Linked DNA regions of Homo sapiens: regions 1, 2, 3 and 4 are each linked to region 5. The links are contacts of gene promoters, found by promoter capture Hi-C in blood cells and fetal thymus (Javierre and others, 2016). All regions are on one chromosome and are shown on one strand. The core of a region is centred on a gene start or on the middle of the fragment in contact, and the rest is flanking DNA. Distances in the headings are between cores, read along the strand shown.

Region 1 (4,557 bases), core at 629-3,128, 620 kb after region 5:
GCGATCTTGGCTCACTGCAAGCTCCGCCTCCCAGGTTCAAGCCATTCTCCTCCCTCAGCCTCCCAAGTAGCTGGGACTACAGGCGCCTGCCAGCACGCCTGGCTAATTTTTTGTATTTTTAGTAGAGACGGGGTTTCACCGTGTTAGCCAGGATGGTCTGGATCTCCTGACCTCGTGATCCGCCCACCTTGGCCTCCCAAAGTGCTGGAATTACAGGCGTGAGCCACCGCGCCTGGCCGATCTTGTGCTAGTTCTTTAGGTACGCATCTTCTCTTCCCTGCTAAACTGTAAATTCCGTATCTGTGTCCAATTCCATTTTTGAACATCCATTGTGTCTAAAACAGTGATTCCTTCCACTAGATTGAATGAACTTGTTCACAGGCACAAGTACAACATAAGCCTAAATCTAAAGGAAATCAGGCTGGCAGTGAGAAAGATCATAACTTTTTAAAAAACTGAATATCTGATTTATTAACTGCTGAAACAGCTTTACCTAGGTAAATGCTTTAAGGATTAAAAATGAATTAAGCAATGAGTTGCTGCCGGGAGCTGTCGTTCTCTCCTGTAATCCCAGTACTTTGGGAGGCCGAGGCAGGCAGATCACTTGAGGTCAGGAGTTCGAGGCCAGCCTGGCCAACATGGTGAAACCCGGTCTCTACTAAAAATACAAAAATTAGCCAGGTGTGGTGGCGGGCGCCGGTAGTCCCAGCTACTTGGGAGGCTGAGGCAGGAGAATTGCTTGAACCCGGGAGGCGGAGGTTGCAGTGAGCCGAGATCGCGCCACTGCACTCCAGCCTGGGGGACAGAGAGAGACTCCGTCTCAACAGAAAAAATAAAATAAAAAAGATAATTTCTCCACAATGATGAAAAATTACGCACAAATAATTATTATTGCTAAGAAATAAGTCAAAAGAGGATAGGAAGGATAACCACCATGGCTTATAATAAATCTGAGGTTTCCTTTAAGCTATAAAAGGAAAACCTTTACGTAAGTTTTTTTTTAAAATCCATATTGGAAGTGCAAGTTTTCCATTGTTTAAAGTATTTTAAGTAAAAGTCCACGTCATAACCTTTGCGTGCAGAAATATGTATTTCATTTTAAATGATTTAGAAATTATCTATAGGTCTACTCTTTTTTCCCTTAAAAAAAAATCTGGATAAACTAGTACAACGTTTCCAGGAAGGCAAAATAAACCAGTTGGGTTCCCCCCAAGTCGCCCACCAGCCTGCAAAAATGGTCACTCGATAAGGACAAAGATGTACTGAACAGGAAGGCTGTCTGTGCCCAGCGGGCTCTGCGCTCTAAAATTAGCAAAAGCAATTACTGTCCCTCTTCTAGCGCGAAGTCGCCGCGCTAATTCCCAAGCACTCACCCACAAACGAGTCGCAGGAGGCGGGGAACAATGAAAACCAGGACGTGCGTGTTCTCTGGCACAATTTGGGAGAGAAACCGTGCTGCCTGGGTCCCAGGCTGGCACGAGCATCGACCCGCAGCCTCCTGGGAGTACCAGAAATAGTGTCCCCCTCCCCGGGCTCGGGACAGGGGACAGGGGACCCCACACCCGACCGGGCCTCTAGCGGGGGCTGCCCTGGGCCCCTCGACAGTTCATCCCTCCAGGGAGCGGCCTGGATCCGCTCGAATCCCAGAAGGGGCCCGATTCCCCTATCCGGGGGCTTAACCGCGACGACCCCTTCCACTTGCGAGGTGCTGCATCAGGACCGAGAGAGGACGGGAGCTCTCTCCTATTTCGGGGTTCAGAGGAGCTTCCGACCGCGAGTTGGCGAGGTTACCTCAAATTCTCCTCACGAAACCGTTTCCCCACCCCCCAGGAGGCGCCCGGGCTCTAGACCGCTCCCAGAGTCGAGCTCCTTGGCAACGGTTGCTAGGCCGTAGAGTTACGTCACTTCCGGGCGAGCGGCCGCTCTCCCGCGCGCGCGCGCACGAGCTGGGGGGCGGGGCCGGGCCAGGGCGGGGAGGACGGGCGCGGGGCGGAGCGGACGGGGCGGGGCGGGGCGGAGCGGACGGGACGGGGCGGGACGGGGCGGGGCGGACGGGGCGGACGGGAGCCGGGCTTACTTGCAAAGCGGGCCCACGTGCTGAGCCACTGCAGACAGCCGAGGGCATTTGGGACTGTTACTCCGACCTAGACGCGCTACAATAAGCTTCCCGAAAGTCCTGCACTTCGCAGTTTACAAAATACTCTCTGCATGATTAACCTATGTTAAATGCGTGTGATGTTTCATTCATTCATTCATTCATGCATGCATGCATGCATTCATGCGCCAAACGTGGGTGATGATTTTTGTTTGTTTTTGAGGCAGGGCTGGGTGGTAGGGGGGTTGGGATGAGCAAGCATTTGGCCAGTGCTTCAAATTTAGGTTTTTGACATAAGTATCTCCAAATTAGGTTATGCATAGGAACAATTGTAGTGAGGCTCTGGCAGGATTAAAAGAAGACACATTCATCATAGAGATTTCAGCTTCTGTGTCACATTACTGGGCCACATTGCCTGTACTGGGAATTAAATTTTTTTAAACCCAATACGTTTTGAGTATGCTGAGAGCCTGAAAGGGGGTGTGGGAGAACTAAGTGTCCTAATGTTCCTTTGGCTTCTGAGTGGGCTCTCTTTAGGTGACTGCAGAAATAAATTAAATCCTCCTTGTGGTCTTCATGGAGTTCACATCCCACGCAGGACGCAGGGAGATCTTTGTGCCCAGTCACTGATGAGGTTTAAAAGTCTACTGGAATTTGCACTAGCTGGTTTGTGGGAGACCTTAGTTGGCAAATGGTATTTTGAACCAACCTCTATTAGACTAGAGACCACGATACTTAGTGATATCAGCTGGCAATGAAAGAAAGAGAAGGAAAAAAAATCAAATTATTGATACCTTGAAAACTTAGTTGCCTGCTCAAACAGCATAGGAGAAACCAACTATAGCTTTAGCATCAGACTTACCACAACAAAAAATAACAGATTACGTATTAGGCATTTCCTATATGCCCTGTACTGTACAGGCTGCTGGAAATGCAGAAGGGCAGGACTTACCTGGCCCCTGCCCTGATGGAGCTGACAGTCTAGTGCCGGCAGAGATTATTAAAGGGGCAACACCAATACAATTGAGATAAATGCTGTAACAAGAGAAGCCAATGATTAGGAGCCCAGATTAAGGGCCTCAAGTTTATTTGGGGAGGGTGGTGCCAAAGGGGCCATACCATCAGGAAAGTTTCTGTCAAATGGAGTGATGTTTAAGGATCAGTAAAAATTAGGCCTGGCACCGTGGCTCACGCCTGTAATCTCAGCACTTTGAGAGACCAAGGCAACAAGATAACTTTGAGCCCAGGAGTTCAGGATCAGCCTGGGTAACAGAGCAAGACCCTTTCTCTACAAAAAATTAAAAGCAAAAATTGGTCAGGGGTGGCACCATTGCACTCCAGGCTGGGCAACAGAAGGAGACCCCCATCTCTTAAAAAGGATCAGTAAAAATTAGCCAAACAGGAAAAGGGAGAGTGTTTTGGGCAGAGGCAACACAACATTCCAAGACCAGTCCCTTTGTTGGCTGCCCTCTGACTGTTGAAATATCAAGCGTAGGTACCCTGCAGGGCTCCTGGAGAGAAACTAAAACTGGCCCCACCCCACAACCAATTAGGGGAAGCAACACTCAAAACCTCAAAGAATTAAATAACTTACATAATACTGACAGAAACAATACAAGATTTGTAGAAGGGATTATATAATTCATTGATCCTGTTGGGTGTGTTAGGAGACATCCCTGGCTACCTGGGTTTGAATTCTGCATCTGCCATTGTGTACCCTCTCTTTATCTTGCTAAACTTTCCTCATCTGTAAAACGTGGCTATAATAAAACCTTCCTCAATAGGGTTGACATGAGGATTAAGGGAGTTGATACAGGTAAAGTGATTACAACAGTGCCCAACATTGGGAGGCACTGAAGACATTTATGTTTTTTCTTTTTAAAAAAATGAGGCATGTACATGGTGGCTCATGCCTGTAATCTCAGCACTTTGGGAGGCTGAGGTGGGAGGACAGTCTTAGCCCAGGAGTTCAAGTCCAGCCTGAGCAACAGTGAGACCCCATCTTTAAAAAAAGAAAAGAAAAAAGAAAAAAAAAAGAAGTAAAAGAATTTTTTGAATAAAACTTTAAAAATAAGATGGTTTGCCAGACACAATGGCTCATGCCTGTAATCCCAGCACTTTGGGAGGCTGAGATGGGCCGATCACTTGAGGTCAGGAGTTCAAGACCAGCCTGGCCAACAAGGTGAAACCTCATCTCTATCAAAAATACAAAAATTAACTGGGTGCGGTGGTGCATGCCTGTAATCCCAGCTACGTGGGAGGCTGAGGCAGGAGAATCACTTGAACTTGGGAGGCAGAGGTTGCAGTGAGCGAAGATCACGCCATTGCACTCCAGCCTGGGCAACAGAGTGAGACTCTGTCTCAAAAAAAAAAAAAAAAAGAAAAGAAAAGAAAAAAGAAAAAGTAAAGAAAAGAAAAAAGAAAAAAAAAAGATGGTTAGATTTGCACCTTCTATAGGGTTT
Region 2 (4,817 bases), core at 2,123-4,622, 630 kb before region 5:
CTGCTCCAGCCATGGCTGAAAGGCACCAACACAGAGCTCAGGCTGTGGTTTCAGAGGGTGGAAGCCCCAAGCCTTGGCAGCTTCCATGTGGTGTTGAGCCTGTGGGTGCACAGAAGTCAAGAATTCAGGTTTGGGAACCTCTGCCTAGATTTCAGAAGATGTTTGGAAATGCCTGGATGCCCAGGCAAAAGTTTGCTGCAGGGGCAGGGCCCTCATGGAGAACCTCTGCTAGGGTGGTGCAGAAGGGAAATGTGGGGTTCAGAGCCCCCACACAGAGTCCCTACTGGGGTACTGCCTAGTGGAGCTGTGAGAAGAGGGCCACCATCCTCCAGACTCTGAAATGGTAGATCCACTGACAGCTTGCACTGTGTGCCTGGAAAAGCCACAGATACTCACCACCAGCCCGTGAAAGCAGCCAGGAGGAAGCCTGTACCCTGCAAAGCCACAGGAGTGGAGCTGCCCAAGATCATGGGAACCCATCTCTTGCATCAGCGTGACCTGGATGTGAGACCCGGAGTCAAAGGAGATCATTTTGGAGCTTTAAAATTTGACTGCCCCACTGGATTTCAGACTTGCATGGGCCCTGTAACCCCTTTGTTTTGGCCAATTTCCCCCATTTGGAACGGCTGTATTTACCCAATACCTGCATCCCCACTGTATCTAGGAAGTAACTAGCTTGCTTTTGATTTTACAGGCTCATAGGCAGAAGGGACTTGCCTTGTCTCAGACAAGACTTTGGACTGTGGAATTTTGGGTTAATTCTGAAATTAGCTAAGACTTTGGGGGACTGTTGGGAAGGCATGATTGGTTTTGAAATGTGAGGACGTGAGATTTGGAGGGGCCGGGGCAAAATGATATGGTTTGGCTGTGTCCCCACCAAAATCTGAACTTGATTTGTATCTCCCAGAATTCCCACGTGTTGTGAGTGGGACCCAAGAGGAGGTCATTGAGTCATGGGGGCCAGTCTTTCCTACGCTATTCTTATAATAGTGAATAAGTCTCACGAGATCTGAAGGGTTTATCAGGGGTTTCCGCTTTTGTTTCTTCCTCACTTTCTCTTGCCACTGCCATGTAAGAAGTGTCTTTCACCTCCCGCCATGATTCCAAGGCCTCCTCAGCCATGTGGAACTGTAAGTCCAATTAAACCTCTTTTTGTTCTCAGTTTCGGGTATGTCTTTATCAGCAGTGTGAAAACGGACTAATACATATATCCATTAAATATATATCTATACTTAACCACTTCTCTCCACCTCCACTGCTCCACTCTAAGCCACCACCATCACTTGCTTGGACTACTGCAGTAGTGTTCTCCCTGATCGCCTGGCTTCTACTATCATTCCCTGCCCATAGCAGTCAGGGACCATGTTAAATCTAACACAGACCATGTCCCTCCTCTGCTCAAAACCCTCCCATGGCTCCTCATTCTTCTTAGAGTAAAAGCAAAATCTTTCCTCTGGTCCTTAAGCCCCTAGGTCACCTGGCTTTCTGGCTTTGCCAATAATCTCTGATCTATTGTGTTTTTTTTTTTGTTTTTGTTTTTTTTTTGTTTGACAGAGTCTTGCTCTGTCACCCAGGCTGGAGTGCAGTGGTGCAATCTCAGCTCATTGCAACCTCTGCCTCCTGGGTTCAAGTGATTCTCCTGTCTCAGCCTCCCAAGTAACTGGGATTACAGGTGTACACCACCATGCCTGGCTAATTTTTTTTTTTTTTTTTTTTTGTATTTTTAGTAGAGACCGGGTTTCACCATGTTGGCTAGGCTGGTCTCGAACTCCTGACCTCAAGTGATCTACCTGCCTCGGCCTCCCAAAGTGCTGGGATTATAGGCGTGAGCCACTGCGCCCAGCCAGCTGACCTATTTTCCTACTATTCTTCCCATTGCTCACTTGGCTCCACTGGTCTCCTCGTTGTTCTTCAAACATGCCCAGGATGGCCCCATTTCAGGGCTTTTGCACTTGCTGTTCCCTCTGCCTGGGACCTCCTTCTCCCAGATAACCACATGGCTCCCTCCCTCATTCCTCCAGGTCTGTCCTCAGAGAGGCCTTCCCTGACCACCTTGTCTAAAAGCTGCACTTCCAGCTTGGGCAAGATAGCAAGACCCCCCCGATCTCTACAAAAAATTAAAAAAAATTAGCCGGGTGTGGTGGTACACACCTGTAGTCCCAACTACTTGGGAGGCTGAGGTGGGAGGCTCGGTTGAACCCAGGAGTTCAGGTTACAATGAGCTGTGATTGTGCCACTGCACCCCAACCTGGGTGACAAAAAAACACAAAAAACAAAAAACAAAAACAAAAAAACTGCACTCCCAGGCTTTCTGCCCCATTGCCTTAGCGTACAGTCCTAGCATGAATCACTTCCAGAACTCATTTGTGTTGTCTTGATTCCTGGCTGCACCTGCTTACCTGGTTCAGGTACAGTGCCTGGCACACAGTAGGCGCTTAGTGAGAGGCTGTACAATGGAGAGCTGACCCTGGTCTGTCCTGTTCTTCCTGCTTTCAGGCCAGGACTTAATAGTGATTGGGAGGTGGCGGGTGGTGGAGAAGAGGCGGCAGGAACAGGAAGGAAGGGTTCAAGGAGGTGGGCAGGGCAAAAACAACAGCAATTCCTATTTCTTGAGAGCTTTCTGTTGTGCCGTGCACTTTACATATCATGATGGTCTTTATTTTCCGGATGAGGAAACGGAGGCTTAGAGAAGTGAAATGATTTCTCTAAGCTCACACAGTGTTCAGTGGCCTAGTGCGACTCGAACTCAAGTCTGCCTAATTCCAGAACTTCCTCTCTTCACCTGGAGCCAGGGGAAGCTTGCGAGGCGCCCTGTCCGTATGGAACAGTGCTGTACGCAAATGTCCTGGATTCAGCTGTTTTTTCTGCCACTCACACATTTTTCAGGAATTAGAGCTATTTTTCTAATTTAACTGGGCATTAAATTTGCTAAACCTGGCAACCCAGGTTTAGCAAATATTTTTATTATTTGTAGAGATGGTGGTCTCCCTCTGCTGCCCAGGCTGGTCTTGAACTACTAGGCTCAGGCAATCCTCCTGCCTCGTCCTGGGGGGAGTTCGGACTTAAGCCTAGGACTTCAGCGAATGGCCCGCCCAGGACCCCCAAATGCTTTTGCAGGCTAATCCACGACCTGGGCCAGTCCTTACCTTTGGAATCGCAATGAGCTTCCCGGGCTCCAATCCGCTTTTCTGGGCTAGGGAACTGGGGAGTCGCGAGCCAGGAGCGGACCCTTTAAGAGTGATTTCGAGGGCGGGCTCACGGGGGCGTGCCGGTTCGGGGCCTGCCAATCGGGAGGTGGGAAGAACGCGGGGGCGGGCCCGGCGCGAGCAGGCTGGGAAGGGTTAAAGGGGCGCGCCCGTGGGTCGCGGACTGTCCGGTTGCTCCCGCCTCCTTCCGTCGGATCCGCGCTCTCCCGCGGCTGCGCCGGCCCGGCCGCCCAGGAGACAAAGCGCTGCCGCCGCCGTCGCCGCCACCGGGCCAGTCCCGAACCATGGCCGGGCCACCCCGCAACCTCGCGCCTCCCGTCCCGTCGCCGCCCTAGGCCTGCGCTGCGAGGTAAGGCGGGCCTGGCGGGGGGACATGCACGAGGACATGGGACCCGGGTCGGGCCGCCCTGGGCCTCGGGGTCCCCCGGCCACCTGGAGAGCGCGTTGCGGGGATCTTCCCCGCTGGGACTCCGCACCAGTGGTGACTTCTCCAGCTGCCGAGGCGAACTTGGCCAATGACCACCCTCCCCTCTCTCAGCCCATAGGGACGTCTGCCGCTGGTGGGGACTGCGGATAAGCCCCCCATTCTGCCGCTGATCACCCATCTGGGGCTCTGGCTGTCCTTTAAGGAACTTAAGAGAGCTCCCACGCACAACACACAAAGGGACAGAGAGCAGCCGGGAGCAGGGCCACACCTGGAGCAGCAGCCCCTGCCGTGGACAAGGGGGCTGCCTGTGTCTGGACGGCGGTGCTGGCGTGTCTCTGGGGTCCCTGCTGGGGCGGTGACGGCCAGGCTGCTCTTTAGTGTTCTTGGCACACATGTTTTTCAGCCTGTGCCTGCCACACCCTCTTCCCCACGCCCGCTGCTGGGGGACACTGAGGGCAGCTGGATTCAACCCCAGGACCTGCGGTACTGGCTTCTTTTCGTTGATGTGAGTGCCAAAATGCCATGCTTCAGTCTCCCAGGAGACCTGGGTTCCGGGGCCAGCTGTGCCCCTGGAGATCTTGGATGAATTATTTGCCTTTTTGACAGCTCTTTCCCTGAAAGCTCACTACCCACCAAGTATTTTGCAAAATGACTCTTCAGGAGTCAATTCACTCAGCCCTTAGAGGGATGGAAGTTAACGTCACCATTTTGCAGATGAGGCTGAGAAAAAACTCCGACTCACAGCAGCTAATATTTGCAATCCATTTCCCATAGTTTGCCAGTGGGTTTTCCTTCTTTTAGCTCATGAACCCTCGCCACACAGCCCAATTTAACAGATGAGGACACTGAGACTTGGAAAGGTGAAACGACTTGTCCAAGGTCCTCCAGCCTGGACCTGCGGAGGCAGGAACTTTGCCTTGGGAGCAGAGCTGGGCCAGGCTCCCTCCAGCTTCCTGTCTGGCCATGGGCTGTTGAATCAGCAGCAGTGCCCACAGTGGACTCTGAACTTCTTGGAAAACAGTGTGGGGAGATAAGGCAGGGGCCAGGCCTTCGCTCCAGGCAAGGCTGGCGCCTGTGCCCCTGCAGCTTCCTGTCTTCCCAGTTCTGGTGGAGGCAGGGGTCATGGGCAGAGCTGGGTCCTGTGCCTGCTGGTGACCTTGAACCAGTTTGGCCTCTATCTAGGC
Region 3 (4,453 bases), core at 751-3,250, 940 kb before region 5:
CGAGGTTGCAGTGAGCCGAGATGGCACCACTGCACTCCAGCCTGGGCGACAGAGTGAGACTCCGTCTCAAAATACAAAAAAAAAAAAAGGTTTGTTTGGTAAAGAGATAAAGAATGTTCGTTCTGGATTCAGATTGCCTGAATTTCAGTTCCAGCTCTGCCACTACTACCTGTGAAATCCTGAGCCAGTTACTCTTCCTCCAAGCCTCAGGTTACTCCTCTGTAGAACAGGGACATAGTACCAGTTTCATAAAGTTGTTGTGACCATTGCATGACACAAGGTATATGAAACACTCAAATTAGTACCTGGCACATGTTGAAATGTTATCTACTATAGTAATATACTAAAAAAGTTCACAAGAGGTCTCATAGGTTTTATGCATACAGTATGTGTGTATGGTTTATGCACTTTCACATAACCCTGTGATTCTTCAACAGGGTTATGTTTTCTAACCCCAAGGAGACATCTGGAAAGGTCCAGAGACATTATTGGTTGTCACCACCTGGGGAGAGGTGCTACTGACATCTAGTGGGTCAGGCCAGGGATGTTTCTAAACACTCTACAATGCTCAGGACACCCCGCCCCCTTGCCAAAAACAAAAAAGAATAATCAGGACCCAAAATGTTAATAGTGCAGAGTTGAGAAACCCTGATTTAAACAGGGCATATGGAAACGTATTTCATAGGATGTAGTCACAAGATCTATATACGCATGTATCTTGTGGTCATGTCATAGTCCAGATACACACACATCTAGAACGCACTATGTCCACACACACACACATCTAGAATGTACTATGTACTTACATATGTATCATTATACAATGTACCTAGAGTAGCATCCTGTCATGTATGTGTCCCATATGCATTGATTGTGTCAGTATCTACATACAAAAGCCACTCTGACATACTGGAAAGAATGCTGAGCCTCAGAAAAGCTAATGTTATCTCCATATACATAATTCCATTTCATCCTCACAACTGCATGAGGACATGATATCATGCCAACTTTATGCAATGACTATACTAGTTCAAGACTGCACAACTGCTGATGTAGGTCAACCTCATAGTACGGACAGGAACTGTGTTTATCTTATACGCCAACGTATCTCAAGCATCCCAAGGGTGTCTAGACTCTCAGTAAACATTTGTGAAGTGACAGGGTGGGGAGGAGGACCCCGGTCTAACTGCAGCACTATGCTCGTAACCAGCAGATCACCATCTTTTCTCTCTTTTTTTTGAGACGGAGTTTCGCTCTTGTTGCCCAGGCGGGAGTGCACTAGCACTATCTCGACTCACTGCAACCTCCGCCTCCCGGGTTCAAGCGATTCTCCTGTCTCAGCCTCCCAAGTAGCTTGGACTACAGACGCGCGCCACCAAGCCCGGCTAATTTTTTGTATGTTCAGTAGAGACGAGGTTTCACCATGTTGGCCAGGTTGGTCTCGAACTGCTGACCTGAGGTGATTCGCCCGCCTAAGCCTCTGGGCTGGGATTACAGGCGTGAGCCACCGCGCCCAGCCAGATCGCTATCTGAACAGCGATCGACTCTCCACTCTCTACGGCCCCTTAGAAGGAACTTCACCTCTCTGAGCCTCGTTGTACCTATCTGTAAAGTGGGACAGAAACAAAACCATCCAGACTAGGGTTAGAGACAGGAGTCAAACACAACAAAAGGGGCAAAGTTCTGCATAGCAGATAGCTCGGACAATTCGGAGACCTCGCGGAGCCAGGGATCCCGCGCCGTCAGCCGAGGTGGATTAGGACGAGGCCTCTGGAGCAAGCAGAGGTTAACTCGCGACTGTGCGAAAACCTGCAGCTCAGCCTAAGTGTGGCACCCCAGCGCAAGCAATCTCCACGACGTCCTTCCGCTCCGACCTCCTCAAAATTGCGTCCGGAAGAGCAGTGGGTGACCCCTGCCACGCCGCCCAATCGCTGTGCGCGGTCCTGCGCGCATGCGTAAACCGCAGGTCAGCGACGGCGGCCGGGAGGCGGAAGTGGAGGTTGTTGTGGCTCCGAGGGCTGTTCGAGGAGCTGCTGCTGCTGAGGCGGCGGCAACTGCATTGAGGTGGTGGCGGCGCTGCCGGCCCCGGGCCGCTCGGCCTCTCGGCTCGCCTTCCAGCCTCGCCTGAGCCCGCCGGGGCCCGCGCCGGCCAGCGCCTGCCCTATGAGTGTGTCACTGGTTGTTATCCGATTGGAGCTCGCGGAACACTCGCCTGTCCCCGCCGGCTTCGGCTTCAGCGCCGCGGGTGAGTCCCGCGGCCTCGCCGCATTCCCTGTAGCCGGGTCTGGGCCCGGAGGGCTTCCCTTCCCAAAGCACTGGCCCGGGAAAAGCCCGCGGCGAGGGCTGTTGCCCAGGAAGACACGGAGAGGTAATCGGGATCCCTCTCTTTCCCATCCGCCTTTGAGAGGCCTTCCCGTTTGTTATCTCAGGGAAGCCCTGCCCCGAACCTCCCTCCCTGTGCCGTCTGAGGGCATTTAGTTTATACCTGGCGCGTCTCCCTCTCGAGATAGTCGAGTGGTGTGTTTGTCTCACTTGCTTCCCTATGGGCTTCGTAAAGGCAGGGACTGGGTCCCCAGCAACGCTGGACGGTCCCTGGGTTAATTAAATTGTTCCCTTTTGGAACGATATCCATTGAAGTGCCCCCTAACCATAGTCATAACTAAAATTTGGACACTTCCTATATCCCAGCACTGTACTAAGCACCTTTTGTGTATTGTATTCTTTAATTATCTTTGCAACAGCCCTAAGAGGCAGATGGATGTGACATGTACCTCTTACACATTGGGAAACTGAAGCTTAGTGATTAATTGATTTGCCCAAGGTTATCTGTAATGGGTGAAACTGGGATTCTAACTCAGTGAGCTGGACTTGAGTCTGAGCTTTTTACACCATTAACACAAGTGAGGAAGCTCCTTAGTGGGGAATGCAGCTCTGGCTCTGTTCCTTGGTCCTCAGATAATTAACTAACATTCATTCAAGAAATACTTGGCCGGGCGCGGTGGCTCACGCCTGTAATCCTCACACTTTGGGAGGCCGAGGCGGGCGGGTCACCTGAGGTTGAGAGTTCAAGACCAGCCTGGCCAACATGGTGAAACCCTGTCTGTACTAAAAATACAAAAATTAGCTGGGCGTGGTGACAGGTGCCTGTAATCCCAGCTACTGGGGAGGCTGAGGCAGGAGAATCGCTTGAACCCGGGAGGTGGAGGTTGCGGTGAGCCAAGATTGTGGCACTGCACTCCAGCCTGGGCGACAAGAGATAAAGTCCATTTCAAAAAAAAAAACAAAAAAAAAACTTATGCTCATATCTGCTGGAGCCTTCCTTGTGTGCTGAATCAGACAGCGTCTCTGTTTTAATGGCACCAGCAGTATCATGGAGGAAACAGATGAATTAAATAAGTGCAGAATATGTGTAGAATTACAACTGTGGTAAGTGCTGTGAAGGAAAGGAGAAACAATTTGGGAAAGTATTACAAGAAGATGTGTTTGGTTTGGAGAGAGGGATGGGGGCAGGTAGGGATGGTGTCATTGGGAACTTCCTGAGGACGTGACCTTTGAAGCTGCAAATTAAAGATTGAATATGACTTTATAGCTTATGAGCACCTTTCCAAAGGCTAAAAGTGGCTTCTGAGTTCTGAGAGTCAGCTAAATTGATATTAGCCGCATATAGACATCTGCATGGGTCAGTCATGTAGTCATTTATTCATCAAACATTTAGAGGGCTTCCTCTGTGTGCTCGGCACTGTGGTATAAGGGCTGGGAATACAGTGGTGGGCAAAACAGGCCTTGTCCCTGCCCTGACAGAGCATGTATTAGGGATATTTCAGTTAAGTCTCCAAATTCCGTTTCCCTTTTCATGTGTTTCATTGATTTAAGACAGTAATCACAGATGTTCATGGCTTGGTTCATGGCATGAGCATAAGCCAGGATGTTTAAGACTACCCCTACAAGTTTTTGAAATTTTGTTTTTTTAATGGACTTGATAGCTTCATTTTGGGCTGAACACAATTTCATTTTATCAGGTGTTACTAAAATGTTAGCTCATCTGGGCATGATCACTGTTGCATCTTCTCTAAGGCTCCCTCTTTGGCGATTTGCTTTAAAGTGCATGATTTTGGGCCAGGCGCAGTGGCTCAAACCTGTAATTCCAGCGCTTTGGGAGGTCAAGGCGGGTGGATCACTTTGAGGCCAGGAGTTCGAGACCAGCCTGTCCAACATGGTGAAGCCCCATCTCTACTGAAAGTACAAAAATTAGCTGGGCGTGGTGGCACGTGCCTGTAATCCCAGCTACTCGGGAGGCTGGGGCAGGAGAATCACTTGAACCTGGGAGGTGGAGGTTGCAGTGAGCCAAGATCACACCACTGCACTCCAGCCTGGGTGACAGAGTGAGACTCTGTCTCAAAAAATAAAAATAAAGTGCATGATTTCAGTAGAACAGCCCTGCATTTCTGAGTAT
Region 4 (4,881 bases), core at 1,168-3,667, 860 kb after region 5:
TGGCCAGGCGCGGTGGTTCACACCTGTAATCCCAGCACTTTGGGAGGCTGAGGCGGGCGGATCACAAGGTCAGGAGTTTGAGACCAGCCTGGCCAACATGGTGAAACCCCATCTCTACTAAAAATACAAAAAAATTAGCCAGGCGTGGTGGCAAATGCCTGTAATCCCAGCTACTTGGGAGGCTGAGGCAGAGAATTGCCTGAACCCGGGAGGCGGAGGTTGCAGTGAGCCGAGATTGCACCACCACTGTACTCCAGCCTGGGCGACAGAGTGAGACTCCATCTCAAAAAAAAAAAAAAAAAAAAAAAAATCCAAACTCTTCACCACTCCCTTCCTGCCCCAATATACTCCAGCCTCTGCCCACCTCCCTGACCTCAACTCCTATCACCCTACTCACTCTTGCCCTCACTTACCCATTCCCATTTCCTCCCCTGGCCCCCCGATTCCTTGCACCACACTAAGCTCTTTGTTACCTTAAGGCTTTTGCTCATGTGCCTCACACCCCAAGTCTTTTTTTTTTTTTTTTTTTAGACGGAGTCTCGCTCGCTCTGGCTGGAGTGCAATGGCACGGTCTTGGCTCACTGCAACCTCCACCTCCCTGGTTCAAGCAATTCTCCCTGCCTCAGCCTCCTGAGTAGCTGGGATTACAGGCTCCTGCCACCACACCCAGCTAACTTTTGTATTTGTTAGTAGAGATGGGGTTTCACCATGTTGGCCAGACTCACACCCCAAGTCTTTGACCTGGCTCTATCCTACTTCTCCTCTAGGTCTCAGCTCAAATATCACCTCTTCAGAGGTACTGCTCCCAAACCCCTACATCCGATCTCAGCCAACAGGCTTCAGTCATCCTCCGTCACTACACTGTTTTATTTTCTTCACATACTCATCAGTGTCTGAAGTTGTCTTACCAATTTGTGTATTGCATTGTGTTGTGTTCCCAACCAGATTGTCAGCTCCACAAGGGCAGGGATTTTGCTGTATCATTCACTTTATCCTCAGTGCCCAGTGCAGTGCATGACACATAGTGGTGGAGGGTGGGGGAGGGGTGGGAAGGATGGCAAATGTTTATTCTGGAATGAATAAGAGGCTCTCAACAATGGTGTGTTAGATTTTTGCATAAGCTGGGCATTGGGTTTAGGACATAAGCATCTAGGTGGGTTGTGGCTGAGATGACTTGTGATTCAAGGTGTGAGAAGCTGGACCCTGGGCTGTTGGAGAGACATTAGGTTTGGGAAACAAGTGTCCAGGTTGTGGGTGAATTGGTATAAACTGGGCTGGCTCCAGCTGTTACCAGTAGAAGGTGTCCAGGTACTTGGCATCTTGGAGAAAACACACAAACGAAGCAAGGAAAGCAAAAGCAAGGATTTACTGAGAACGAAAAGTCCACCCCACAGTTTGGGAGCAGGCTTGAGCGTAGAGGCTCAAGAGCTCTGCTTACAGAATTTTCTAGGGTCTCAATACTCTAGAGGTTTCCCATTGGTTACTTGGTGAATATTCTATGTAAATGAAGAGAATGAAGTGAAGTCACAGAGTCATTTACTCAGAATGTGCCCTATTGCAAATGGAGAGGATGTGCAAATGGAGAGGATGTTACTTGGTGGGAGAGGATGAATGTGAAGTTACAAAGTATAAATGGAGAGGATGTTTCTTGGAGTGTGTGGTCTGTGTAAATGGAGAGGATGAATGTGAAGTTACAAAGTGTAAAGGGCGTGAATGGAGAGGATGAAGTGAAGTTGCAAAGCCGTTTACATTCCTGTCATTGCTAAGGTGCTTTTTGATTTAGGTCTAGGAAGTCAGCCTTATGTTCCCTGCCTCCAGGCCCTATTTTTCTGCCTCACAACAGGTAACATCAGACTGTTGAGGGCAGACTGGACCCCAGATTTCGGGAAGCAGGAGTTGTCCAGCAGGGCAGTGGCTGAGTTAGACTGTGACTTCAGCAGTGTTCAACAGGTATAAGGTCATTGAAGACCAAGAATCAAGCAATCGAGCGTCCTCGTCGGTTGTAGCGAAAGAGAACCGTGACCAACAGGAGAGCAGTGTCCACCCAGGTCACTTGGGGTTACTGGGGTACAATTTTGGGGGAAACGGGGGTCCTGGGGAGCGTTGGCTGGGTGGGGCTGTAACCCGAGCTGGTGGGCGGGTTGTGAGCTGTGACCTGGCCCGAGTCGGCCCGCCCGGATTGGGGGGCCAAACCGGGGGCGGCGGGAGGCACACCTGGGGAAGACTCACCTGGGAGCGGCTCACTTGGGCCCTCCGGGACCCATGAACCGGCGCACCTCCTCTGCGTCCCGCCCCCGGCCGGCCCCCCGGCCAATGGGGGCGCGGAGACCTCGGCGGCGGGCGCGGATTGGGAGCCGGTGAGCGGGGGCGGGGCGGCGCGCCCGGCAGTTTAGGCGCTCGGCCGGCGGGCGGCGCTGAGCGCTCGGCTACGAGGGCGCCGTGCGGGCGGAAGTGGCGACGCTGGCGTCCCCGGAGCCTGCGGCGGGCGGCTGTGACGGCCCCGGCGCTGACGGCGGCGGCCGGGGGGGCGGTGTCGACGCCCGCGGCGCCGGCTGGGGCATCACCGCGGGCCTCGACCCCGAAATGGCGCTGCTGGCCGAACACTTGCTGAAGCCGCTGCCCGCGGACAAGCAGATCGAGACCGGGCCCTTCCTCGAGGCGGTGTCCCACCTGCCGCCCTTCTTCGGTGAGCCGGAATGGAGGGGGGAGGCGGCCCGCAGCCCCACGCGCACCCGAATCCTCCTTCCCCCGAGCATCCCCTAACCATCTCTGCCCTAGACACCCCTAAGTACTGTTTCCCCAGGCACCCAAGATCCTCTTTCCCTCCACTCACCCTAAATTCTCCCTTTCCCGGACCACTCCCAAGTCCTCTCCGCTCTAAACATGTCACATCCTGCCTGTCCTCCCCAAATCCTCCCTCTCCCTAGACACCTCACAGTCCTACATATCCCCCAAATGCCCCCTGATCATCCGTGCCCCCAACACGGATGATCTTCCATCTCCCTTAGGCATTCTGTAATCCACCATCTCCCCCAAAGCCTCCTGCCCCTTCTTCCCCAAAGTCCTTCATCCCTGGCGCTTTCTGATGGCTCTCAACTCGCTCCCCTTACAATGAATCCCCCCATTTCATAAGCCTTCTCTTTGAACGCTTCCAGCCTCTCCCTCATGGGACCTACAAACCCTTCCTTCTTCCCTCAGAATTCGCCCATTCCAGATCAAAGACTCCCATCTCCCCCTCCAAGGGTAGGAAGCCTGGTGAGGCGGGGACAAGGAGAGGGTTTTGAAGATGGAGTTGCAAAATTCCAGGGCCTCTTTCTAGGGGAAACCACCTAAAGTTTTTCCTCCTTTTAGGACAGGGGTGAGGGTTGTCGGGGGAGCTGTTTTGTGAGGTGACATCAGACATACAGAGCTTGGCACCAATTCCTCCCTCAGTTTGGGCTCTACGAGAGGAAGCCCCTCCCCTGTATGTCGTGTGGAAGTTCCTGGGCGCATTGGGAAGGCGGTCCACTTTCAGACCCTCTTCCCGCACTCCCTCAGCCTAGCCCAGTCCAGCCAAGGCCCCAGATGGAAAATGGGAACTAGAAGCCAGCACCACTGCCCCTGCCCTTTGCCTTTTGGGTCCCGGGTAAAGGGTGCAACCTGAGCCTCTATTCTCCTTCTCCATGTGGGCTCTGTCCTGTCCTGCTGGTTCACTTGGTGGCCTTGCAGGAAAATACCAGCCCCCAGGGCAGAGTCCACCTGAAACCCAAAGACAGGAGATCTTAAGACAGTCCGACTTAGTGGGCAAAGAAGGCTTGTTAGGGGTGGTAGTTCCCACAGTGTCCTGAGCTCTGGGATGGTTGTGGTTACCTGGAGGCTATAGTTCCCCTCCTTCACCTCGTGAGCCTCAGTGTCCCCAGCTGTGAAACGGGGATGCTGATCTCCTAGGGCAGCTGTGAGGAGTCGATGAGGTGGTGTGTGTAAAGTACCGAGGCCGTAAGTGCCAAATAGGTCTTCGCTGTAGGGGGTGTGGTTTTAAGTTCCTGAATCCAGTTTTGGTTCCTTGCTAGAGTGATTAATCGGTGTTTGAGGGAGTGCAATTGTCTGGTGTGTATGATTCCCAGACCTGGGTAAGCAACCTGAGAGCAAGGGCTTGGTTTTTTACATCCACTCTGTGTCCTCAGTGCCCAGAACAGTGCCTGGCACATAGCAGATGCTCAGTCAATACTGCTGAATGCACAAAACTTTCTTATTATCAGTGTCACAGTCTTGAGATAATACTGACTCTCCAGGTGGGGGCTTGGGAGCGAACCAGCTCTAGCATTGAAAAGTTGTTTAATTTTGTGATGTTGTTGGTTGTTGTTGTTTTTTTTTTGCTTGCTTGTTTCCTCTTTGGTTGCAGGAATAGTTCCAAGTCAGAGCCAGCTTGCCCTGGACAGGGATTCAGAATCCATTTAAGCCAGTGGTTCTCAACTGAGGGCAGTTTTGCCCCTTAGGGTACATCTGACAATGCCTGGAGGCATTTTTGTTGCAACTGAGTTGGGGGATGGGGCACGGGGTGTCTTGTGAGTAGAGGCCAGGGAGCTGCTCAGTATCCTACAGTGCACAGAACAGTCCTGCCACAACAAAGAATGATCCAGCCCCAAACATGAGCAGTGTCAAAGGTGGAGAAATCCCAGGTTAAACTCTGTGGCTTTTTCTTTCCTTATTTTCAGCGAGGTTGCACATCCGTTCTGTATTTGGGGGTATCATCATTTGATGCAATTATCTGGCTGGTTTTGGAGGAAAGAGGGAGGTGGCAAGCCAGAGCCAGCAGTCATCTGGTGCCAGGGCTAAAGAGCATCTCCTCCTCCCTTTCCTTGGTCTCAAAGGACCCTTGTCTTTGTTGCAATCCCTGTGCTG
Region 5 (4,940 bases), core at 1,187-3,686:
TTATTAGGCTGTATCCTTTCTGACAGGATGCTTATATCAACTCATCTTTGGAAAGCCACTGGTGCTGATAATGGCAGAAAAAGGCGAATAGGGAATCAGTGCTTTCCTCCACCGGCTATTTGCTGGTTCCTGGGAGCTGTGAGGGCCCACCCTGGTGAGCTATGCCATGCTCAGGCTCAGAGCCAGCTAATCACTTAGGCATGTGCCAGCAGAACTGAACTCTGGAGGGGAGTTGCCCAGCAGAAAACAACCTGGGGACAGAGGCTCTCCCCATGTCCCAGCTCAGTCTGAAGTCCTCCTCCAGCCCTGATGATGTTGCAAGAGGTTAACACACCTGCCATTTTGCATGAGGAAAATTATGGCACTCGTATTGTGGGCAGAGACACAATTCAGTCATTCCACTGGGTTCCAAATTGATATGTGCCCAGTATGTGCCAGGGATGTGAACACTGCTGGGGGTTCACTGCCGGGTTTTACTGAATATGAACGAGGGCTGTGGTTTCAGGCTGTCCTGAGTTCCAGCCCTGACTCTGTAACTTCCTGGCTGTGTGACCTTCAGCAACCACCCTAGCCTCTCTGTGCCTCACTTTCTTCATCTGTAAATGGGGATGATAGGAATAGGACATAATTCCTAGGATTATCTTGGGGATTCAATGAGATCATTTTTTGGCACATACTAAGAAATGAACACAGTAGCATTTTTTTTCTTGTTTATTTTTCTCCACTGCACTTATCAGAAGCTGATATTTTTATTTGCATCTTTGCTTACCATCTGACTGACTAAATGACTCTCCATAGAAAAAAGCCTTGTCTGTCTTGATCACCCCTGCTTCCCTGTCTAGAACAATGCCTGGCACAGAGTGGGTACTCCATAAATATTTGTCTGCTGAATGAATTGCTGTCTTTCATATTTCTACCCTAAATGCCATTCCGATGATGCACCCTGCCCTGGAGTAGCCCAAAGTCCTGTGGACTCCAGCAAGAGCCCCCCCTGACCTCCATAGCCAGATGTTCACAGCAGCGCTGGGCACCAACTCCGAATGTCACCAACTGGGCTCATTGCCTTGGCCTGACAAATGGCACTTATGTGACTTCTGGTGGACAGAGCTGTAGCAGGGGAAAGTGAGTTAGTGCCTGAGGAAAGTGGATCGATAGGCTGAGTTCTGAAACTCAAGGGCCCTGCACCAGTAGCGAGGGGGCCCAAGTAAGGGGACATGGAGCCCGCACCCTGAGGACATTGCTTTGGAAGAGGATGCCTGGGTGGTGCAATTACCTCGTGGCATACTGAGATGGGGATTCGTGCATCCTGCACGCCTTGGGAAACAAAATGAATTTCTCGGAGAGAGGGGGCTTTGCAAAATGTAAAGCGCTGCAGGAAGCAACGTACATGGAAAGGTCAGGAAAGAGAGCCGATCTGTTTGCTGAGTGTGGGCTGTACTTCCAAACCCAGCCAAAGTCGACGCGCAGCCCCTGGAGGTGGCACAGTTTGGGGGCCCCTTGGATAGGAGTGCCCTCGGGGAGGCTGGGAAGCCAGAGAGGAATGGGCCAAAGTTTCTTCGGGTGTCTGCAGAACCCAGGACCGCCCGCGCAGCTTGCATCTTCTCTTCCCGCCCCCGGCCTGCACGCGTGAAATCTGCAAATTCCCCTTTTAACTGCTGCACGCGCTCGTTCAACTTTGCCCTGGCTAGAATCGGGATAACCGTCCCGATGATTACATAACTTTCCGAGTTCAGGGAAGATAAATCCAAGGGACAGAAATGATAAAATTTTCTTTGAGTATGGATTTTTTACCCCTAAAGTTACAGAAGTGCACAAAAAATATATATACAAATACCCATATACCCACCACTCACAATGAGTTAACTGTTACATTTTGACTTATCTGAAAGAGGGTTTTTTCTTTTTAGTTACCAAATAAACCTTTCTCTTGTCCCAAGTTCCAGTATATCTGAATCCAAAATAAGTCAACCTTCTTTTCTTTATTATTCTTTTCCATCCTCACCCCAGATTTATCTTAAAGGGTAAGTTCCAGGACCCCCGAAATCCCTCGGTGAGCTCCCACCTGTCCAGGTCTGCAAACATCTAGACTCAATGCACAAGATCCGGCGATGGCCGCAACCGGCGGTGTGCACAGCTGCATTTCCTCCCCCAGCCCCAACTCCCGCGTGCAACTTTGCAACTCTCGCTCGGGCCCGGCATTGGGGGCGGGCCTATTTACTCGGCCCGTTTGGCGGAAGGATCCCATGCGGGGACGCGGTTGCGCTCAGCCATCTGCGCCCCGCCCAGCGCCCGGGCCCCGCCCCCTCCAGCGCCCGGGCCCCGCCCCCTCCCGCGCCCCCTATGGCCCATAAAGAAGTCCCGGCCGGGCCGCTGCACTCCCCGCGCGCATCCGTGCGCCGCCCGAGGCTGTCTAAGGAGTCGGCGGCCATTTTGTTCTTCTCGTGGTTCCAGTGGGGAGAGAAGGAGGAAGTAGGGAGCGGGGTGGCAGGGGGGGGACCCGCCGCGGCTGCTGCCACCGCCGCCACCACCGCCTCTGCTCGTGGCGTGGGAAAGGAGGTGTGAGTCCCGGGCGCGAGCCGGCGGCGGCGCCGCTGCGGGAGGGTCGGCGGTGGGAAGGCGATGGCGGATTTAGATAAACTCAACATCGACAGCATTATCCAACGGCTGCTGGAAGGTAAGGGGGGCGGCGGGCGGCTGAAGGGGGAGGCGGGCCTGAGGGCGGCAGGCGGCCCCGGGGGCTCGAGGGAGGGGAGTTGGGAGGCCGGTTGGGCTTGCAGCACCGTGGGGAGTGAGCTCCTCGAGTTGGCCCACGGGCCGGGGACTGCAGCCGGAGGGAGGCCAGCCCGGGATTCCCAACTTGTCGCCAGCTGCGGACCCTCCAGGCTCCGCTCATTCATTGCACGAGGATGCAGGCTTCCTCCCGGCCGTGGAATTTGAAAACTCCGCTCCCCACCCCCACGTTTCCCGCCCCTACCCGTTTGCCCCCGCGCACTGGACGGGTCTTTGGAGCGATGGTTGGGGATCCCAGTCCAGCCTCCTGGACGACGTGTGCCGTGCTGTGCGAGATGGACTTTTCGGTGCTCGTCCTCTCGGAAGGCAGTTTGATGAGGGCATGAGTTCCGCCGGGTTTGGGGGCTCTTTTCCTGCTTGCTTTTATTTTTATTTTTCGTGGTTCTGGGGTCTTGGGGGGCCCATTTCTTGTTACTTGGTAACAAGCGTTCATGTCTCAAGAGGTGTGAGAACCTGTCTTCGCCTGCCCTCCAAATCCTTTTAAGTTGTTCTAATCTTGGAGAGGTCTCCGCGCTCTTTTCCTGAGCGTGCATCTGAAGAGGAAGCCAACGAGGCTGACGCTATCATTATCTTTCCAATGTGCCAGGCTCTGTCTTAAGCACTTTGCGTCCATGAATTATTACTGTAATCATAACTGACGCTTCTAAAGCGCTTACTGTGTGTCAGGCATTCTTTGAGCACTTAAGACAGATTTCATTTAATTCTCCCACCCATTGCAAGATATTTGCAATTTTTTTTGTTTTTGTTATTTTACAGAAGAAACTGAGATGAAGTCACTTAACCAAGGTCACACAGTTAGTGACAGTTGGATTTCAAATCCACATAGCCGGGAGCTAGAACCCTCTACAGACAACACTGTCACCTTATGTAGGAAGGAAGGTGGCCAGTGGTTAAGTAAAGGTTAATAGAAAGCTTTAAATTTCGGCTCATCTAAGACTTGTGAGGTGCCTGGCAATTGATTCATGTTGATGTGGGAGAGGGGCGAGGTTCAGCTTTTAAAGACGGAAGCTGAAATGAGCTGCTTTCAGATTCAAGGGCATGTCAACGGATGCTAACATCTTATCCAAGACTTTGTAAGAATTCAGTCATATCCCCTAACTTGGACACTTCATAATGGGAACTTGGCAGTTTCAACTGCTTTTTGCCTTTATACAGTCCTAAAATATTGTTGGACTATAAATGCTGTGAGTGGTGGAGTCGAGGGCATGAACAGTTGGACAGCTCTGGTGTTAGAATTTACAGATCTTTTAAAGTAAGTTATTAAAATGAAGCTCCTGAAAATATCTCGTCCTTTTCTTAATCTGTGCATTCTTTCCTTTTATGCTGTCTTTAAAAAAAAAACAACAAAAAAAACACTAAATGTCATTAAGGACCCCTGAAATGCTCTTGAAATGTTATTGCAGGTGAAAACCTTGTATTGTAGGTGAAAACCTTGTCATTCTTTTAATGCCAGGTATTTATATAAGAACCATACTTTTTCATACTAGTTAATATAGTTCTTTAATTTATTCGAGGCAGCAGTTGGTCAGAAACTGATTAAAATAGTTTGCTGTAAGAAAGGAACTTTTTGTTAAATATTTTCTTTCTAAATTTTAAAATTCTGCTTATCTCTGCAGGGATATGTGTGGCTTTATTTCTCTGAGGAAACAGGAAAAGTTGGAATTTGCATGGATTAGAAACATTAGAATTTTAAGATCATCTAAGGCTTGCTAATTTAAGTTCTGGTTTGCCCATAACTGCCTCTATTCATAAACAGCTTTTGTTAATTTTGATCTTTAAAATTGTAATAAGTACTTTGCCTGGTAAGTAATGATACATCTAAAATGAGATCATTGTTTCTTAATAGTTCCTCTTGTTATGTGGCACTTGAAAACCAGGTTTTCTTATATTTCATTTTTTGCTGAAATTAATAAAGCAGTGCATTTTAATGCCTTGGGAATAGGCTAACTGCAAAGTATACTTAAATTTCTTTTTTTCTCGTGGGTGTTAAATTGGCAGAGAAACAGTTGAAGATGATCCATTGAGGATATGTAGATATCTAAGTTAAATGATGTTGGTAATAAATTCTGTTTTACAATTTTTTATTTAAAAAAATTAAATTTAATAATTTAAAATAGAAATGAGAGTCTCACTGTGTTGCCCAGGCTGTT

The links. Contacts are between HindIII fragments. The CHiCAGO score rates a contact against its expected background, and 5 or more counts as called.
Region 1: the fragment with the promoter of IFT81 here is called in contact with the fragment with the promoter of PPP1CC in region 5 in 2 of 17 cell types (fetal thymus and naive B cells); the score reaches 9.0 in fetal thymus.
Region 2: the fragment with the promoter of PHETA1 here is called in contact with the fragment with the promoter of PPP1CC in region 5 in 14 of 17 cell types (endothelial precursors, total B cells, erythroblasts and 11 more); the score reaches 10.7 in endothelial precursors.
Region 3: a contact is called between the fragment with the promoter of BRAP here and the fragment with the promoter of PPP1CC in region 5, in 1 of 17 cell types (fetal thymus). The highest score is 5.7, in fetal thymus.
Region 4: a contact is called between the fragment with the promoter of GLTP here and the fragment with the promoter of PPP1CC in region 5, in 3 of 17 cell types (non-activated CD4 T cells, neutrophils and fetal thymus). The highest score is 7.2, in non-activated CD4 T cells.

Annotation. Positions count from the first base shown.
Region 1 is chr12:110,121,678-110,126,234 of GRCh38, reverse strand. It overlaps IFT81 (intraflagellar transport 81), which reads right to left and starts at 1,878. Exons shown (of 19, transcript NM_014055.4): 1 at 1,374-1,878. RefSeq lists a silencer at 1,795-2,064. The HindIII fragment of the contact is 3,777 bases long and covers 1-2,165 here.
Region 2 is chr12:111,367,650-111,372,466 of GRCh38, reverse strand. It overlaps PHETA1 (PH domain containing endocytic trafficking adaptor 1), which reads left to right and starts at 3,372. Exons shown (of 3, transcript NM_144671.6): 1 at 3,372-3,555. It overlaps LINC02356 (long intergenic non-protein coding RNA 2356), which reads right to left and starts at 3,206. Exons shown (of 4, transcript NR_187522.1): 1 at 3,147-3,206; 2 at 397-498. RefSeq lists a silencer at 3,202-3,781. The HindIII fragment of the contact is 8,438 bases long and covers 2,801-4,817 here.
Region 3 is chr12:111,683,503-111,687,955 of GRCh38, reverse strand. BRAP (BRCA1 associated protein) reads left to right here and starts at 2,000. Exons shown (of 12, transcript NM_006768.5): 1 at 2,000-2,245. The coding sequence starts at 2,164. ACAD10 (acyl-CoA dehydrogenase family member 10) reads right to left here and starts at 1,903. Exons shown (of 21, transcript NM_025247.6): 1 at 1,717-1,903. RefSeq lists a silencer at 2,128-2,227 and enhancers at 1,572-2,273, 2,274-2,975, 2,976-3,677. The HindIII fragment of the contact is 2,811 bases long and covers 1-2,797 here.
Region 4 is chr12:109,878,077-109,882,957 of GRCh38, reverse strand. It overlaps GLTP (glycolipid transfer protein), which reads left to right and starts at 2,417. Exons shown (of 5, transcript NM_016433.4): 1 at 2,417-2,686. The coding sequence starts at 2,584. LOC124903012 (a long non-coding RNA gene) reads left to right here and starts at 1,557. Exons shown (of 3, transcript XR_007063455.1): 1 at 1,557-1,597; 2 at 1,784-1,843; 3 at 1,951-2,060. It also overlaps a transcript of TCHP not described here. RefSeq lists an enhancer at 1,334-1,835 and a silencer at 2,160-2,709. The HindIII fragment of the contact is 8,722 bases long and covers 1-4,881 here.
Region 5 is chr12:110,740,387-110,745,326 of GRCh38, reverse strand. It overlaps PPP1CC (protein phosphatase 1 catalytic subunit gamma), which reads left to right and starts at 2,436. Exons shown (of 7, transcript NM_002710.4): 1 at 2,436-2,674. The coding sequence starts at 2,620. RefSeq lists enhancers at 857-1,441, 2,203-2,711 and silencers at 2,206-2,345, 2,506-2,565. The HindIII fragment of the contact is 5,862 bases long and covers 1-3,704 here.